3 separate regions of the Homo sapiens genome follow, and regions 1 and 3 are each linked to region 2. Evidence: promoter capture Hi-C in human tissues and cell types (Jung and others, 2019). All regions are on one chromosome and are shown on one strand. Each heading gives the region's core, a stretch centred on a gene start or on the middle of the fragment in contact. The rest is flanking DNA. Distances are from core to core; before and after follow the strand shown.

The links. The method cuts DNA at HindIII sites, captures the fragments that hold promoters and counts their contacts. A contact is called where the count stands out against the background at its distance.
Region 1: a fragment that was not itself captured here is called in contact with the fragment with the promoter of COL6A1 in region 2 in 3 of the 25 tissues and cell types used here (lymphoblastoid cells, mesenchymal stem cells and mesendoderm cells).
Region 3: a fragment that was not itself captured here is called in contact with the fragment with the promoter of COL6A1 in region 2 in 5 of the 25 tissues and cell types used here (H1 embryonic stem cells, heart left ventricle, mesenchymal stem cells and 2 more).

What each region holds. Positions count from the first base shown.
Region 1 is chr21:45,881,647-45,884,380 of GRCh38, forward strand. All of the region lies in intron 5 of PCBP3 (poly(rC) binding protein 3), which reads left to right. Among named protein-coding and RNA genes, the nearest start is that of PCBP3-AS1, 47 kb to the left of the region's middle. The HindIII fragment of the contact is 4,995 bases long and covers 1-2,734 here.
Region 2 is chr21:45,980,487-45,983,186 of GRCh38, forward strand. COL6A1 (collagen type VI alpha 1 chain) reads left to right here and starts at 1,284. Exons shown (of 35, transcript NM_001848.3): 1 at 1,284-1,461; 2 at 2,148-2,277. The coding sequence starts at 1,365. LOC105372841 (a long non-coding RNA gene) reads left to right here. Exons shown (of 3, transcript XR_937803.3): 3 at 804-1,080. RefSeq lists enhancers at 1,042-1,904, 1,905-2,700. The HindIII fragment of the contact is 42,283 bases long and covers 1-2,700 here.
Region 3 is chr21:46,069,393-46,072,092 of GRCh38, forward strand. It overlaps the pseudogene PSMA6P3. Among named protein-coding and RNA genes, the nearest start is that of COL6A2-DT, 27 kb to the right of the region's middle. The HindIII fragment of the contact is 8,195 bases long and covers 1-2,700 here.

The DNA of each region.
Region 1 (2,734 bases), core at 17-2,516, 99 kb before region 2:
CACAGCAGCTCCCCAGCCTGTTTGACTCCCGTCTAACTGAACTTGTGCCAGTGACCAACAGCTCCCATTTCCCCCAACCCCCCGCAGTCCCCGACAGCCACCTCCCACCCTCTGCTTCTGTGAGATGCACTTTTTTAGATTCCACATGTGAGATCATGCAGTATTTGTCTTTCTGTGCCCAGTTCATTTTACTTGTTATAATGTCCTCCAGGTTCATCCGCAGTGACACAGATGACATGGCTTCTTTCTGTGTGTATGTCTGTGTGTGACATTTTCTTTATCCGTTCGTCTCTCTATGAACACTTAGGCTGATTCCACCATATCTAGGCTGTTGTGAGTTGTGCCACAATCAACACGGGCCTGCATGTGTCTCCTCACTATAGTGACTTTGGGTATATGCCCTGAAGTGAGACTGCTGGATCCTGTGGTGGTTCTATTTCTAGTTTTTTGAGGAACTTCCGTACCGTTCTCCATAATGACTGTACTAAGTTTCCCATCAGCACTGTACAAGGGTTCCCTTTTGTCCACCTCCTCACCAACACTTAGCTTTTGTCTTTTTGATAATAGCCATTCTAACAGGTATGAGCCGATATCCCATTGTGGTTTGAATTTGCATTTTTCTGGTGATTAGTGATGTTGTGCACTTTTTCATATACCTGTTAGCCATTTGTATGTCTCCTTCTGAGAAGCTTCCATTCCGTTTCTTTGCCATTTTTTTAAAATCTGGTATTTGTTTTCTTGCTATTGAGTTGTTTGAGTTCCTTACACATTTTGAGTATTAACTCCTTATCAGATGTTGTATGGTTTGCAGTTTTTTTTCCAGTTCCCTAGGTTGTCTCTTCACTCTGTTGTTTGCTGTGCAGAAGCTTTTCAGTTTGATATAATCCCATTTCTCTACTTTCTGCTTTTGTTGCCTGTACTTTGAGGGCCATATTTAAAAAAAAATCATTAACTAAACCAGTGTCGTGGAATTTTTCCCTGTGTTTTTTCTTAGTGGTTTTGCAGTTGCAGATCTTACATTTAAGTCTTTAACCCATTTTGAGTTGATTTTTATAGATGGTGTGAGATGAGGGTCTAATTTCATTCTTCTGCACAGGGACATCCAGTTTCCCCAACACCGTTTATTGAAGAAACTGTCCTTCCCCGTGTGTGTTCCTGGTGTCTTTATTGTAGATGGATTGGCTGCAGCTGCGGGGTTTCCTGCCAGGCTCTCCGCTCTCCTCCACCGGCCTGCATGTCGTTCTTACACCAGCGCCAAGTTCTGGTCTTTAGTATTTCATTCCTCTGCTTACTTGGATTTATTTTGTTCTTCTTTTATTAGATTCTTAAAATGAGTGCTTAGATTATTGATTGGAAGCTTTTCTCTCTTCAAATGTGTGTGTTTCGTGCCACAGGTTTCCCTCTCAGCACTGCTGTAGTTGTGTCCTGCGATTTTTGATATGCTGTGTTTTTATTTTCATTCAGGTCAATGTGTTTTTTGATGTTCCTTGAGATTCCCTCTTTGACCCTTGGATTGTTCATATATGTGTTTCATTTCCAAGTGCTTGGAACTTTTCTTGTTATCTTTCCATGATTGATTCTGGTTTGAGTCAGCTGTGGTCAGAGAACATACACTACGGTTTCAATTCTGTTAAATTTGCTGAGGTTTCTTTTATGGCCAAGGGTATGGTCTATCCTGGTATAGATTCTGTACATGCAGGAAGAGAGTGTGGATTCTGCTGATGCTGGACAGAGTGTTCCGGAAGTGTTCGTTAGGCCCCGTTGGTTGATGGTGTTGAGTCCTTCCAAATCCTTTGCTAATTCTCTGCCCAGTGGTTCTTTCAGTTGTTGACAGTAATAAAGTCTTCAGCTGTCGTTGTGGATTTTTATATTTTTCTTTTCACTACTATTAGTTTCTGCTTCACATATTTTACAGCTCTGTTATTTGATTCATACACATTTAGGATTGCTATTGCTTATTTAGACTCTTTTATCATTATGTAATGTCCTTCTCTGTCTCTGATCATTTTCATTGCTCTGACGTCTATTTTTTCCGATATTAATATAGCCATTCCTGCTTTCTTTTGATTAATGGTTGCACGATACGCCTTTTCCCATTAGTTTATCTTCAGTTTGCTTATATTGTTCTATTTGAAGTGAGTTTTCTGTAGACAGCATATGATGGGGTCATATTTTTAAATCCACTCTGCCCATCTGTGCTTCAATTGGTGTATTTGGACCATTTATACTTAAAGTTATTACGGTATTGAGATGTTAGGGCTTAAATCTGCCATTTCACCTTTTATTTATCTTTTGTATTTATTTATTTTGAGATAGGGCCCTACTCTGTCATCCAGGCTGGAGTGCAGTAGTGTGATCATGGCTCACTGCAGCCTCTTCTGGGCTGAAGTGATCCCCCCACCCCAGCCTCTCAAGCAGCTGGGACCACAGGCATGCACCACCATGCCCAGCCAATTTATTTTTATATTTTGTAGAGACTAGGTATTCCTGTGTTGCCCAGGCTGGCCTTGAACTCCTGGGCTCAAGTGATCCTCCCACCTTGACCGCCCAAAGTGCTGGGATTACAGGCGTGAGCCATCGCACCCAGCCTCATTTTTAATTTTGTTGGCTTTGTTTTTTGTTTCTCTGGTTTTAGTTTTTTCTTTCTTCCTGTGAGTCAGTGTACATTTTTTTGGAATTTTATTTTATCAGTAGCATTTTAGAGTATATATCTGTATGGCTTTCTTTTTTAGTG
Region 2 (2,700 bases), core at 34-2,533:
CACCCCCAGGTGATATCAGGGACAGCCCCTCTCTCCTCTCTCTGTCTCTCTTTCTGTCTCTCTGTCTCTGTCTCTCTGTCTCTGTCTCTCCGTCTCTGTCTGTCTCTCCTCTCTGTCTCTCTCTGTCTCTGTCTCTCTGTCTCTGTCTTTGTCTCTCTCTGTCTCTCCTCTCTCTGTGTCTCTGTCTCTGTCTCTCTCTCTGTCTCTCTCTGTCTGTCTCTCTGTCTCTCTCTGTCTCTGTCTCTCTCTGTCTGTCTCTGTCTCTCCTCTGTCTCTCTGTGTCTGTCTCTCTGTCTCTGTCTTTCTGTCTCTCTCTCACTGTCTCTGTCTCTCTCTGTCTCTCTGTCTCTGTGTCTCTCTGTCTCTGTCTCTCACTGTCTCTCTCTCTGTCTCTGTCTCTCTGTCTCTCTGTCTCTCTGTGTCTCTCTGTCTCTGTCTCTCTGTCTCTGTCTCTCCTCTGTCTCTCTGTGTCTCTCTCTGTCTTTCTGTCTCTCTGTCTCTCTCTGTCTCTGTCTCTCTCTCTGTCTCTGTCTCTCCTCTGTCTGTGTCTCTGTCTGTCTCTCTGTCTCTGTCTCTCTGTCTCTCTCTCACTGTCTCTCTCTGTCTCTCTGTCTCTGTCTCTCTGTCTCCACACACAGCATATATAACAACTATATTGTGAGCAACTTTGTCTTCCCACGGTACAAACTGAAATATCTTTGGCAAATACGTATCCGACTATACTGTGAAGAAATATTGACGTGAAAAAAGAACGCGGAGATCTGATAAAGCAACAATTCAGCTCACGGCGAGGTCCTCTGCAGGAGGCGGTTGGTGGGAAGAGGCGAGTGAGCCTGCCCGTGCGTCCCGCATGGAGACGTCTGGATTGGAAACTACCGAAAGATGTTTCAAGGAACTCTCCCTGGGTGACACGCTGGTTTTCAGACGTTTGATTCAGCTGCTGCAGTTTCCTCCTCCCTGACACGGGAACTGAACTGCAGGCCGCGGCGAGCCAGCCAGGGAAACCGCCTTCTCCCTGGGCTCGGAGCTGCTGCCGGTTCTGGAGGGAGAGACCCCAGCAAGGAGGTGGTGACTCATGGGCCGCTCCTCCCCGCCCCGCCCCGCCCCTCCCCTCCCGCCCCGCCCCTCCCCTCCCGCCCCTCCCCTCTCCTCCCGCCCCTCCCCTCCCCTCCCCTCTCCTCCCGCCCCGCCCCTCCCCTCCCCTCCCGCCCCTCCCCTCCCCTCCCGCCCCTCTCGCCCCGCCCCTCCCCTCCTTGCCCTCCGCTCTCACTCTGGCTGGGAGCAGAAGGCAGCCTCGGTCTCTGGGCGGCGGCGGCGGCCCACTCTGCCCTGGCCGCGCTGTGTGGTGACCGCAGGCCCCAGACATGAGGGCGGCCCGTGCTCTGCTGCCCCTGCTGCTGCAGGCCTGCTGGACAGCCGCGCAGGATGAGCCGGAGACCCCGAGGGCCGTGGCCTTCCAGGGTGAGTGGTGGCTTGGGGTGCAGGCTCCAGACCCCCCGCTCTTTGCTGCCGGCCAGGGCCAGATGCGCGGGGTCCCCTCCCACGCGTGGAACTGCAGACTGGGGGCCTGGAGCCCCTGAACCCCACTCCCCGCTCGGGGCGGCTGCAGCGCCCAGCTCTGCCCCACCGGGCCTTGGCCGGGGCCCCTAGAGGCTCAGCATTCAGCATTCTCAGCGGGGCCGGACCGCAGGCAGCTCGGGAGGGGCTCCCTGGCGAGGGGGAGCTGGTGCGGGGCTGTCTCGGCGCCCCGTGAATCCGTTTGACCCCTCACCTGGCAGTGAGTCCAGACGCACGGCCCCCCCGACCCCCGTTCTAGAAGAAGTCGTGCGCTGCTGGTTCTGAATCCAGCGAGAAACCTTCCCGTGAGGTCTCACTTGTCCGGTCCCGTGCCGGGGACGCCCTGCCCTTCGGGGGAGGTTGTGAAGGTTTCTGACTCCCCTCGAGGCACAGGAGCGGTTTGGGGTCTCTCACTCCACCCCCTCCCCACCGTCCCCACCGAGGGACGTCCTGCTGCCTTTTCCCGGGAGAGCCTCTCCGGGCCCGGGGCTCTGTGCTGCAGGCGCTGGGCTGGCCGGGAGGGCAGGCCCAGCAGAGACTCGGGGAATGGGGCGAGAGCTTGAAGGCCCCTCTCCTCCATCTTCGGCCAGACTGCCCCGTGGACCTGTTCTTTGTGCTGGACACCTCTGAGAGCGTGGCCCTGAGGCTGAAGCCCTACGGGGCCCTCGTGGACAAAGTCAAGTCCTTCACCAAGCGCTTCATCGACAACCTGAGGGACAGGTAGGAGGGACGCCCCGTGACCTTCCTCCTGTGCTTCTGGGCCTCTTGGAGGGAGGGGTGGGGGCCCAGGGGAACACGGGTGCGACGGCCTCAACCTCCTAAGGTTGGGCGAGCGTTGCCCTGACCGGGGCCCCTCCCGGCGCCCTCCAGAGTGAGGCCGGGGCCCTTTCCGGCGCCCTCCAGAGTGAGCTGGTCTGAGCCTCTCCCAGCGCCTTCCAGAGTGAGCTGGTTTGAGACCCTGCTCGCGGGGGTGGCACCTGTTCAGCAGGGCCGAGGTGACAGTGAGGCTGAGATGTAGGGAAGAGAGGCTCCCGCAGGCTGACCGAGAGGGCTCAGCGCACTGGCCCAGACACGCAGTCCTGCCTGGTGCGCGGGAGCCCCTCACTAACCACCTGGACCCTGGTTTGTTCCGTGGGCAGTGAG
Region 3 (2,700 bases), core at 195-2,694, 89 kb after region 2:
TGTGTGTGCATGTGTGTGCAAGTCCATGTGTGTGCTTGTGTGCCTGTGTGCCTGTGTGTGTGTGCATGTGCGTGTGTGTGCATGTGTGTCTGGGTGTGTGCATGTGCGTGTGTGTGCATGTGTGCCTGGGTGTGTGTGTATGCACACACATGTATATGCATGTGTGACTGGGTGTGTGTGCATTGTGGGGGTGGGGGGAGTGCTGAACGTGCCTTCGCAGTGACAACTCCAACTCTAAGTCGGTACCACAGGGCTCATTCTCGCCTTCCTTCCCTGTGTGTCTAACGCTTCCTCTCCAGTCAGGAGAAACCTGCTTCATGCCACCCACCGTCTCCTTACTGATCTGTTCGACCCTGGAATTCACGTGAAGCATTTTCAGAATTGTACCTCGTGAGAAACAAATGAATCCAGAAAGTCAACCAGAGGGTGATGCAGCACATGGTGGCTCGGAGCACACAGCCTCTCCGAGGCCATCACAGACGCACTGGTGTGGGGGGCTCCCCTCAGACCCTCAGCGATGGCACTTTCTGTAGGCCGCAGAGGTAGGGGCCGCAGAGCCAAGCTTGCTAGCATCCATGGGACGCTGAGGCCCCAAATAATAGAGACCAGATGGCAGCGCTTACCCCCAGGGCCGAGCTGAGGGGGCGGCCAGAGGCGCTTGGCCTGCAGGGAGCCGTGGAGGCTGGCGGAGCACGGCACCCTGGGAAAGGTGGCAGGGGCAAGAGGGTCACACAGGTCATAGGCCAGCCCAGCGGGCAGGGCCCTGCACGTCCTTCTCACTGGCACCTCTGCAGGACCCGAGAGGGGGCATGGCCCAGAAAAGGTGTTCAATAATTGTTGTCTGAGTGTGTAATAAAGGAACAAATGAATGATTGGAAAATTCACAGACTGCTTCCCCGACTACATGGAGGGAAAAGGGTAACCATTTGGTACATGGTAAAGTTCAAGCATCAGAAATGCCGGATTAAATTGAATAAATGTGCCAACGATTAATTCAGTGGCTTCAAGAATTAATGCCCAAAAGGCCAGGCACGGTGGTTCATGCCTATAATTCCAGCACTTTGGGAGGCTGAGGCTGGTGGATCACTTGAGGTGAGGAGTTCAAGACCAGCCTGGCCAACATGGTGAAACCCCATGTTTAACTTACTACTTAAAAAATACAAAAATTAGCCGGGTGTGATGATGCACACTTGCAATCCCAGCTTCTTGGGAGGCTGAGGCACGAGAATCACTTGAACCCAGCAGGCAGAGGTTGCAGTGCGCCGAGATCGCGCCACTGCACTCCAGCCTGGGCAACAGAGTGAAACTCAGTCTCAAAAAAAAAAAAAGAAAAGAAAAAGAAAAAAAGAAATTAGTGCCTGAAGGAGTTAGCAAGGACCCCTCCAAAGCCCGCCTTTCTCTTGGCCACTCATGTGCGCTCTCAGCATGTCCAGAAGCTCCTGCATTTCTTCGTCTGCAACAGAAGGCTGGCTTGCTGATCGACTGATTGACAACTTCTTTAAAAGCAGAGCCTCCAGTCATCTTTCAGATGGCTCATTGTGGGCCGTGTCTTTTTAGGTTGGCGGCACCCTTCTTTTTTAAAAGTACACCTGTTGGTGGAAAGTTAACACTCTTTGAGGACTGGATGAGCTTGTATTTCGCTAAGGCGCTGTGGATTTGGAAGCAAGAAGGTGCCAGGGCTGTGCAGGTGAACCTGCTCTGCGATTCCATGAAAGAGCAACTGCCCCAAATACCTTCCCTGCCACAGGCCTGAACGCCTTCATCCTCAGTGTGAACCCCTCTCGGGACCGAAGGCACTGATAACATGGGCATCTGCTCCCTGGGTGGGCTTGCACGCCTCTGCAGGGTCTCTCGTTAACGAGAGACCCTGAGAACCTGGCACCTGGGAGGAAGGCATGGATTTCCGTGGGTGTGGCTCACGCTAGGTGGTGGTGAAGCCCTGCAGAGTCAAGAGAGGACAAGAGGACAAGTGCGTGGAGGAACCCACAGAGGAGGGGCAGGAGCCAAACTCTCCATGAGCCCCTGGACCCCCGAGCAGCTGAGATCACAGCGCTCCAGCCAACAAAAGGCAAGCAGTGACGTGAAGAGAGCCCTGGAGTCAGAGTGAGAAGTCCTGGGCTCTGGCCACAGCTCTGCCCACTTGTGAACATGATTTTTGTAAGTTCATGAATAGAAGGAGAGGAATTTTCTTAGTCTGCTTGTGTTGCTATAACAAAATACCTGAGACTGGGTAATTTATCAATAACAAAACTTTATTTTCTCACAGCTCTGGAGGCTGGGAAGTCCAACATCAAGGCCCCTGCAAGTTCAGTGAATGGGCAAAGGCCCATTTCTCATGGAAGGTGCTGCCTGGGGGTCCTCACACGGTGGGAAGAATGAAAAGGGGAAAAGGGACAAGTGCCACGTCCTCAGATGGCAGCAGAAAAGCAAAAGGCACACGCAGGCTCCCCCCGCCCTTTTATAAGGCGCTAACCTGCTCATGGTGGTGGAGAAGGCCTCACCTCTTCATACGCCAAAATGAAGATTAACTTTCTTTTTTTCCCCAAAAAGCATAGTTCTTACTGATACACAGTCCTAACCACTTGAGTGGTGGGTGAAGTGGGAGAGGATCTCTTTTGAATCATAATGCGGCTTCACTGTTACCAAATACGCAGGCTGGTGGCATCACAGATGTATAAACCAGTGACAATGTTTAGTTTC